Linked DNA regions of Homo sapiens: region 1 is linked to region 2. Evidence: promoter capture Hi-C in 16 types of primary human blood cells and fetal thymus (Javierre and others, 2016). All regions are on one chromosome and are shown on one strand. The core of a region is centred on a gene start or on the middle of the fragment in contact, and the rest is flanking DNA. Distances in the headings are between cores, read along the strand shown.

Region 1 (4,880 bases), core at 790-3,289, 380 kb before region 2:
AAAAATCTCCCACTGTGATTGTGGGTTTGTCTAGTTCTGATTTTACTAAGGACAATTTTTGTTTTATGTATTTTGAAGGCATGTAAAGCTTCAGGATTGTGTAACCTTGATACAATTAACCTTTTATCACTATACAGTACCATTCTTACATTAAATAATGCTTCTTGCCTAAAAGTATACTTTGGGCCAGGCATGGTGGCTCACACCTGTAAGTCCAACACTTGGGAGGTTGAGGTGGGAGGATTGTTTGAGGTCAAGAGTTCGAGATCAGCCTGTGAAACATAGCAAGGCTGTCTCTACAAAAACAATAACAACAACAACAACAACAACAAATTAGCTGGGTATGGTGGGGTGCATCTGTAGTCCCAGCTACTTGAGAGACTGAGGAGAGAGGCTCACTTGAGCCCAGGAGTCCAAGGCTGCGCTGAGCTATCGCACCACCGCACACTCTACTCTCGGTAAGCCCCTTTTCTTTAAGAAAAAAAGAAAAAAAAAAAAGAAAAAAAAAAGTTAAAACAAGGAGATTACTTTACAATGTGTCAGATTAAGATGACTAACTTATCAGGTGATCAAGAATGTGTTCAGTAACAGACACTTCCAATCACCAGTGGAGTTAATCAAATCTGTACAAATAGACAAAACCATTTGACCAGGCATTTTTAACAATTCTGAAAAATTTCACCTATTTTGGATTGTTTTCTCCTATAACTCATAAAGCATTTAAAATTATACCAATCATCAATAAATTTAAATTTTTGAAATTTAAAAATTACCAGCCATAAATACATATACTTGATGTGACTTTTTATTTTATATACTTGTTTTTCTGAAATACTGAAGAATAAATTGGAGATATAATGCTTCTTGACCCCAAAATATGTCAACATGTAACTGCTAACAATAAGGACTTTGTCTTACAGAACCACAGTATGGTTATCAAACTCAGGGAATTTGATATTATCCAATCTGTAGTGCATATTTTGAATTCATCAATTGCACCAACAATGTCATTTATAGCTATGCCTATGATTTCTCCTTTTCTTCCTCCTCATATGAAAATATTACATAAAGTATGTAAAACAAGCACTAAAACAGAATGTATAACACTGAAGTAAAAGCAGTATTTCTTTTGCATATAGTATGAGAAATACAAAATACAACTAAAAAGTCAGAAAATCAATACTGCCTGGGCAGTTTTCTTGCCATGTTCCTCAATACATACATTAAAAAGAAAGAATTCTGAGGCTCTAATAGGAATCCCATATATTCAGTGCTTAAAGAAAATAAATTTGAAACAATACATACTCCATCCTTGAAAAAACTTGAATTCAAGAAACATTCACTGAATACTTACTATGCAGGCAGTACTCTGCGATACTCTCGGAGACACAAGTGGAATAAGACATAATCTTTGCCCTGTAAGAGCTTAAAATCCAGTTGCTCACATAAAATTAGGGATAGTGAGTTCATGGTTATACAGATGATCCAGTTTAAGAAAGAGAAAACAAACTATTTGAAGGTATCAATCTGACTATAGCACCATGAAATGGAAAAGTAGTTTGGTTTTGAGCCCTTACATTAAAATGCTTCATTAAGAATTCAATTTCTCTTCTTGACAGTTCAAATCTAATCAGATGACATGGTCATCTACATGAGATCCTAGTAGGACAATGAGTCCACTCGGTATATGCTGTTTTCTAGTCAGGTCATCTTAGAACAACGTAAAAAGCAAGCTGTGTTCTTGATTCTTCTAATACTTAAAAAAAAAAATTCTAAAGTTACATCAACTACTTAGCTCTTTTAAGAAAAAATAAAGAATTATTCCTTAAATACACTCTTAAATAAAAACTTATCTTAAATAATTAAAAAGTGAAAATACTAACACCATTTCTTACTTGGATCTAATTGTATGTCTTTTTACTTTTCTCTACTTCATTCTCTCTAGTCTAGGGCACAGACTATAGAATTCAAAGTTTATTGAAAAAGTAAAATTGAATGGGAAAGAAGAAATCACCTGAGGCTGGGCGCAGTGACCCACGCCTGTAATCTCAGCACTTTGGGAGGCCAAGGCAGATGGATCACCTGAGGTCAGGAGTTCGAGACCAGCCTGGCCAACATGGTGAAACCCCCATGGCTGCTAAAAAATAGAAAAACTAGCTGGGAATGGTGCCAGGTGCCTGTAATCCCAGCTACTCAGGAGGCTAGGGCAGGAAAACTGCTTAAACCTAGGAGGCGGAGGTTGCAGTGAGCCAAGACTGCACCATTGCACTCCAGCCTGGGCACCAAGAATGAAACTCTGTCTCAAAAAAAAAAAAAAAAAAAAAAATCACTTGAAAACTCATGGTCCCCTTTTAAAACTTCTAATTTTCTGGTAGAAGGGGGTAAAAAATACCAAATCTGCAAATTATATGTAAGTGTATCATGTTTCACACTCTCTTGAGGATCAAAAAAAGTCTGAAGAGACAGAAATAGATAAACCTGGTAGATAGTTCTGATGCTACTTGATGAAATCTCTAAAAGGTCATAGTAATAAAACCTCCTTAAGTGTTTAAAGCCTACTACATTTAAAGTTAAAACTGAAGCATATCAAAAACAATTCAGCATTCTTTAAAGTTCTTACCACAATCATTTCTGAAGGCTCTAATACAAGACAATCACATCCTCTTTTTCCTCCAAACTGCTTACCAAAACTATAAAAACAGAAAAACAATTTCTTTAGCAAAGGTTATTAATAAAATATATCAATATAGGAAAAGAAAACAAACAAACAACAAAAAAGCCCTGAGATATTATCCAAGAAATTCTGATCCTGTCACAATATTTATGTTAAGATTTTCTAAAAAAGAAAGAAAAAAAAAAACCTTTCTCTTAATTGTCCAGATATAACTGATCTCAATACTATATGAAAATTCTTTTTAAACTTCTGCCTTTAACTAGTCCCTAAAATTAATTATAAAAGATAACTGTCTAATCTCAAATTTCTAACATCTGTCAATATACGTTGCACAAAGAAAAAAATACACTTAGTAAAAATCTAATAAAAGTGATAACCTGATTAGGCAATTTAATAAAAGTAAATTATTATAATCTTTTGGGAGCAGTGTTAAGACAACAGATACTAAAAATAAAAAAACTTAAAAAATATTCACACTTGAGTAGTCTCTTGGTATCCAACTGGGATTGGTTCCAGAATCCCCAAGGATACAAAAATCTACCAGTGCTCAAGCGCCTAACATAAAATGATGTAGCATTTGCATATAACCTATGTGCATCCTTCCATATGCTTTAAATCAACTTGAGATTTTTAATAATACCTAATACACGGGAAATGCTACATAAATAGTTGTTATGCTTTATTGCTTAGGGAATAATGACAAGTAAAACAAGTCTATATATGCTTAGTAGAGATGCAACCATCCATTTTTTTTTCCAGGATCAGCAGTTGCTTGAATTAATGGATGTGAAACCCACGGATATGAAGTGCCAACTATATATAAAGAAATGTAGTTAGATATAAAGATGACTTCTTAAAAGAAAGTGTTGGAGTCACAGCTCTTTGGAAAAAACTAAAGCTGGACCAGTACTAAAAGACAGTATTTTTATATTCTTGGTCTCAGAAAGATTTCTCAGCATATCAAAAAGAAAGCAACCACAGAGAAAAAGATAGGTTTCCATTTTAAAAGATAACCTGAATTTTTTTTAATGAAGAATAAAAAAAAGCCCTGTCAACTATACTAAGACACAAATGACTTACATATGAAATATACAGAGCTCACTCAAAATAATGATAAAGCAACCAAAAGTATTATCATATATGAAAATTTAGTGCCAGTGTCAGTTAGTAAATAAAACATATAAATATTACTCCAAAATAACCAAATGGAAAAAAAACATTAATCATTCAAACAAAACAAAATACCAAAAAACATCTAATAAATAAATAAGTCATTTATAAAGAAAATTATACAACTTCATTGATGGGCTAGAAACAAAGCTTAAAGTAACATAGCTATACTTTTATGGGAAGGTTAAATATTTAAAAATGTCAATTTCCCAAAGTATAAGGTTCTATACAAATAACAGTTAATAACAAAATTCTAATCAAAATCCAAACAAAATAACTTTTGAACATAACCAAAAAATCACTTATGTTTTTTCTTCGAGACAGCATCTCACTCTGTGATCACCCAGGCTGCAGTGCAGTGGTGCAATCACGGCTCACTGTAGCCTCGACATCCCTGGGCTCAGGTGATCTTCCCATATCAGTCCCAAGTAGCTGGGACTACAGGCATGCACTACCATGCCTGGCGAATTTTTTAAATTTTTTGTAGAGACAGGGGTTTTGTCATTTTCACTATGCTGGTCTTGAACTCCTGGGCTCAAGCAATCCACCCACCTTGGCCTCCCAAAGTGCTAGGATTACAGGCGTGAGCCACTGCACCAGGCCTCACTTGTTTTTTCTTAAGCAGAAGATCCTTATCTTTTGTTTCCCCCAAATTCTTGTATCACCTAATACATTTAAAAAAGCAAATCTGTAAAAGTTTGCTTTCATGCAAGATGGAATAACAGGGACTGGGTTTACTCTCCCACCTGAGGACAAAAACAGAAAACAAAACAAAATATATAAAACAACAATTTCAAGACACCAAAAAGAAGGCAGGGCAGGGCTGTAATTCCTGAGGGAGGAAACAAAAAACTAAGATGACTCTTGCAATACACCATTTTACCACCTACAGGCAAGAGAAGCGTAACACAGCCTGACAATTTCGCTGAGTTGAAAAGCTAATAAGCGTTTTGGGGTGTGGATGACAGGGGAAAGATACTTAGAATTTGCAAGGCAGTGTTCCTGAAAAGAGGGAGAGCAGCAAAGAGATACGGGG
Region 2 (5,011 bases), core at 1,917-4,416:
ACAGTCAGAAGGATTCACTTTGGAGTAGGGAAAAGATACCTCTTCCACTGAGATAGGAAGATGGGGAGAGATACAGATGGATGCTTATGTTTGGAGGAAAAACAGAAAGCTGAGGGAGTTCACATTTGACAGTCTTACCTGATACTAGTTCACTATTTGATGAACTACTATCAACCTGGAGGTCATCAGTAACTGATTCCTAAGTGAAATAAGAATTAAAGCTATAGCAAAATTATGAGATTGACCATTTCTATATTATAATCTTGTACAGATTTATTTTAGAAAAATGAAAACATCAACTTTTTATATGTTTCATATATATAATACATTCATTCAGTTTATTGTTCAGATGTAATCTGATATTTAATATTAAACCTAAAAATAAATATTAAAATATAATACTATGAACATATCTTGTAATCAACAATATGCTAGTCAAGTAACTACTGTGGGATGACAGCAAATAGAAGATAGAGGTGAATATTTTTCTGGTTCCCTAGTGGGGAGGGGCTTTTTTTCCATCTATAGAGGCAAATATATAAATCAAAAGAAAAGACTAGTAAGTCTAAAATACTAGAAATAAAATTAAAGGCAAGTAAACAAATATGGAAATATTGGTTATATATGTATGTACAAAAGTATAGCTATCTTTAATATTTAATAGACATTTCACAAAACAGTACAAATGGCCAATAATTTGAGAAAAAAAATATCGACTTCCCCAGCATTCAAAGAAATGAAAAGTAAAAAACATGCTACTTTTCATCTATCTATCTATCTATTTCATATATATACACACACATATATATAAAAGTTTCAGGTAAGATGGTGCTGATTTATCAACATGAATAAAAAAACTTGAAACATGATCCAACCTGTGATCCACTGCAAAGTATTTATCTTAGGGTAACAATGTGAGGTACACAAAAACCTTCTGTAACAGAATGTCTATGGATATCAATAACAGCAAAACCTTGGAAACAATCTCAATTTCCCAACCACAGGGAAATAGTAATACAAATTACAGTGTATCTATCTACAAGACAAAGCACTATGAAGACACTGAAAGTCATATTTTTGAAGACTATTTAATGTATGGGAATATACAATAAGACAACTGGTCATTTTTTTTAAAGCACAGGAGAAAAGGAACAGAAATATATAAAAATTTTAAGAAACTTTCAAAACACTATTTTTTCATAGTATAAATACTCTACAAGGACTACTTTACACTGTTAAACTATGGATAAAAGCCTTTTAAAAAAATGTCTTGTGTTGAAACTGCCTTCCCCCAAAAACATGTTATAAAGGAATATTAAGTTAAAAAAAAATAGAACTTGGCCAGGTGTGATGGCTCAAGCCTGTAATCTCAGCACTATGGGAGGCCGTGGCGAGCAGATCACTTGAGGTCAGGAGTTCGAGACCAGCCTGGCCAACCTGGAGAAACCCCCTCTATACAAAAATTAGCTGGGTGGTGGTATACACCTGTAATCACATCTACTCAGGAGGTTGGGGCAGGAGAATCGCTTGAACCCGAGAGGCAGAAGCTGCAGTCAGTGAGCCAGGACTGTGCCACTGCACTCCAGCCTGGGTGACAGAGCAAGACTCTGTCTCCAAAAAAAAAAAAAAAAGGAACTTGACTATGAAGTTTAATGTTAATGTCAGATGAGTCACAAGCAATTTTTAAAATCTGAGCTTCCCTAAATTAGTGCTGTACAACTTTAAAATATAGTACAGAATTCATATTAAATACAGCACATCAAGAAGTTATAAAATATTCTAATGAATAAACATTAGAATGCTCTGTAACATATTAAACCCTTAGTAATGAATGTTTCCAGTTGTTAATGGAAAATCAAATGGAAAACATGAAAAAAGGAGTTATTAAGTAACATTTTGTATTTGTCATACAGAAAATTCACCAATTATGGACGTTTCTCCAAAAACGTGTCAAGAGAAAGAGAAAAACAAAAATGCATGACTATGAATCTACCCAAGTCAGAAATTCAAGGCCCTGTCTAAAGACACGTAAGTGTTTATAAAAATACTGGTGAGCTATGTAACATCTACAGAACAAAGCCCATTTTATTCTTTCATCCGGAGGTACATCAGGTACTGATAGTCTCTACACTAAGTGTGTCCAAGGACTAAAAGAGAAGCATACATACACGCAACGATGCAATCTTCTCATCCTGGGTGTCTTCACTAGACCTATTTTCTTGCAGGCTTTTCTCTCCTGTAACTCCTAAGCGAGGGCTAACAAAGAGACAACGCAATTAGTTTGCACCATCTGGATTTGGCTCTCCACGTCTCTGTTCAGACTCTTTAGAATCTGAAAGGCTCTTTAGGGACATCTTTAGGAAGAAGTAAGGACCAGAGTGGTGACTTGCACCAAAACCCAAATGCAGTGACACAATCGTATAGCTCACCGACCAATTTATCTCACTTCCTTTTACGTAAATTGGCAAGCCTTCCCCTTTTTAAAAATAAATCTTCCTGAAGTCAAATTTTGGGGTCCATGTTCTGAGAAGAGCAAAATCAGAGTACTGTATTTGTTTTGCTCCTTGACTGTTAGAATAAAAGGCTACTAGCAGAAAATTCGGCTTGAAGTTTTCTGAGGTGGCAAGCTAGGATCGGGCTGTTACTGGAGGCTACATACCTGAACGGCCCAGAGCCGCTACCTCCCTGCCTGCTCCGCTCTGCTTTCTCTGCAATCTTCGACAAGCCGTGCACTTTGCCTTTTCTCTTCGAACCTGAGAGAGGGCGGCACGTTTCAGGGCAAGAAACCTACCCACCGGCTTCGGGGGGGTCCTGGGCCCGAGGCCTAGCACCCCCGCCCGCCCTCGGTCCCGTCCCGGAGGCAGCTCGGCTGAGCTTACGGTGGGCGAGCCTTGAGCCTGTACCTGGCGGGGCCTCGGCCTTCGCTGGAGAGCCTAGGTCTGGCGTCGGGGTGAGATTGAGCCTCTGACCCTCCCGCTTTTTGCGGGTATAGACCCGTAGCGGCCACATTGCTATCCCACCCTACCCCCAGGCCACGGGTGCCTCTGGACTCTCGATGGCCTGCCTTCCTGAGGATCAGGGCTAAGTCACAGGGAGTCAGCGTCCAGGCGAGGCCCGCGGAGCAGCCTCACAGCAACTAATCGAGCGAAAGCAAAAGCCCCAGAACTGGAGCCGCCGGGCCTCGCTCCCGCGCTTTTATCTCTGTGAGGCCGCGCAGAGGCTTCTGGGAAAACGGAGGAGCGCGGCAGCCGCCCAGCCTTCCTATAGGGGCCCAGTGGTTTCTGGCCTTCTGGCGCAGGTTCCTTCAACTCCAGCGAAACGAGAGTTTTTTGGAAAAAACTTTTTCCTCGTCCAGAAAAAGGTTTAATTCAGCCCCTCCTCCTCCGTCTGAGCACTTAGGTTTCGCCTGTGGCTGCATGCTTAATTCAACTGGGCATGCAGGAGTAAAGGCGTTCCCTCCTTTGGGTGGGCCCAACACTTCCTCTGAGCAAGCTCTCCCTATCAGCACTGCATAAGGCCTTAGTAATGGAGTTTTAGGCCACCAGCACAGGCAGTCTTGTGAGGGGTTGGCCTCAGTGCAGGAAGGTCACAAAGAGGACTGAATGCACCTTAAAGTGACAAGGAGCTTCTCCCTGAGGAATCAACTTCAGTCCCCTGGGCCTGCAACTGACTGGGAAGCTATGGTAATTAAGAGGCTAACCAAGCCTCTGAAGATCCCGGGCTCTAGGAGGCTGCTTCTGGACGACAAACAGTCCCTTAGCCTGTGTCCAGGAGCCATCTCTAGACATCTGGGCATCCTTGTGGTTAAGGTAGAAGATTCCATAGGGGCTCTCCTCCTTGTGCCCTGGGCCTCAACTTGTTGCTGCACCAGACCGATCTGTTTCTTCTTCTTCTTCTTCTTTTCTCCTTTCTTCTTTCTTCTTTCTTCCCCTTCCCCTTCCCCTTCTCCTCTTTTTTTTTTTTTTTTTTTTTTAAGACAGGGTCTGGCTTGTCACCCTGGCTGGAGTGGAGTGGTACAATCATAGCTCACTGCAGCCTCAAACTCTGGGCTCAAGTGATCCTCCCACCTCTGTCTCCCGAGTAGCTAAGACTACAGGCACATGCCACCATGCCCAGCTGATTTGTAAATTTTTTTATAGAGACGGGGTCTTGCTATGTTATCCCAGCTGGTCTTGAACTCTTGGCCTCACGTGATCTTCCTGCCTTGGCCTCCTAAATTCTTGGGACTACAGGTGTGAGCCACCTTGCCCAGCCTTGGTTCAACTTTTATGTAACAAAATTGTGAGTTGTTTTTCAGTTGCCATGAACCCTGAGGTCATGTAACCTGAGCATGCCTAGATGAACCAAGCATGCAGCCACAGGGGAAACCAAGTGCTCAGATCAAGGAGGAGGGACTGAATTAAGAAGTAGATATGGCATGGCAGGATCCAACCGGGTTGAGCTCTGGCTTCATCCCATAGCAGGATCCAGTCAGATCATGCCTCCCAGCATCACCTCATTACAAGATCCAATCAGATCACATCTCTTTACCCTATGCTTATAAAAACCAAACCAAACCCCAGCTTAGGAAGACAGATTTGAGCATTTCCTCCTGTCTCCTTGCCAGCCCACTTGCAATAAAGCTTTTCTTTTCCCAAAAGCCAGTGCCATGGTATTAGCCTCTGCATTCATCAGGCAGTGAGCCCATTGACTGCTCGGTAGCAAACTCTTCTGCTCTGTCAATTAGAGATATGTTGGAATTACCTCCCTTTCTCTCCATACCCTAGGTTGAACCATCTGGCGACATCAGATGAGCATATTATGCACATAACAATAACCATCTTTTTATTCTAAAAAGTGGAAATATTTCATAACATTTAAAATGCAGTTTGAAGAGATAAAACTATGAAAAGCTTAAAGGTTTTTCTGTAACACCTCAGTCTTGTATGTGCGAATATAAGCACATATATATCCACAGTATTTTTGTAATATAATCACTGAATATTTTATTTAAAATCTGCTCACAGAAACA

The links. Contacts are between HindIII fragments. The CHiCAGO score rates a contact against its expected background, and 5 or more counts as called.
Region 1: a contact is called between a fragment that was not itself captured here and the fragment with the promoter of MEIKIN in region 2, in 1 of 17 cell types (neutrophils). The highest score is 6.0, in neutrophils.

Annotation. Positions count from the first base shown.
Region 1 is chr5:131,559,358-131,564,237 of GRCh38, forward strand. It overlaps RAPGEF6 (Rap guanine nucleotide exchange factor 6), which reads right to left. Exons shown (of 28, transcript NM_016340.6): 5 at 2,621-2,690. Among named protein-coding and RNA genes, the nearest start is that of RAPGEF6, 73 kb to the right of the region's middle. The HindIII fragment of the contact is 3,906 bases long and covers 87-3,992 here.
Region 2 is chr5:131,942,497-131,947,507 of GRCh38, forward strand. It overlaps MEIKIN (meiotic kinetochore factor), which reads right to left and starts at 3,167. Exons shown (of 13, transcript NM_001303622.2): 1 at 2,904-3,167; 2 at 2,660-2,753; 3 at 2,169-2,256; 4 at 139-199. The coding sequence starts at 3,009. The HindIII fragment of the contact is 14,593 bases long and covers 1-4,620 here.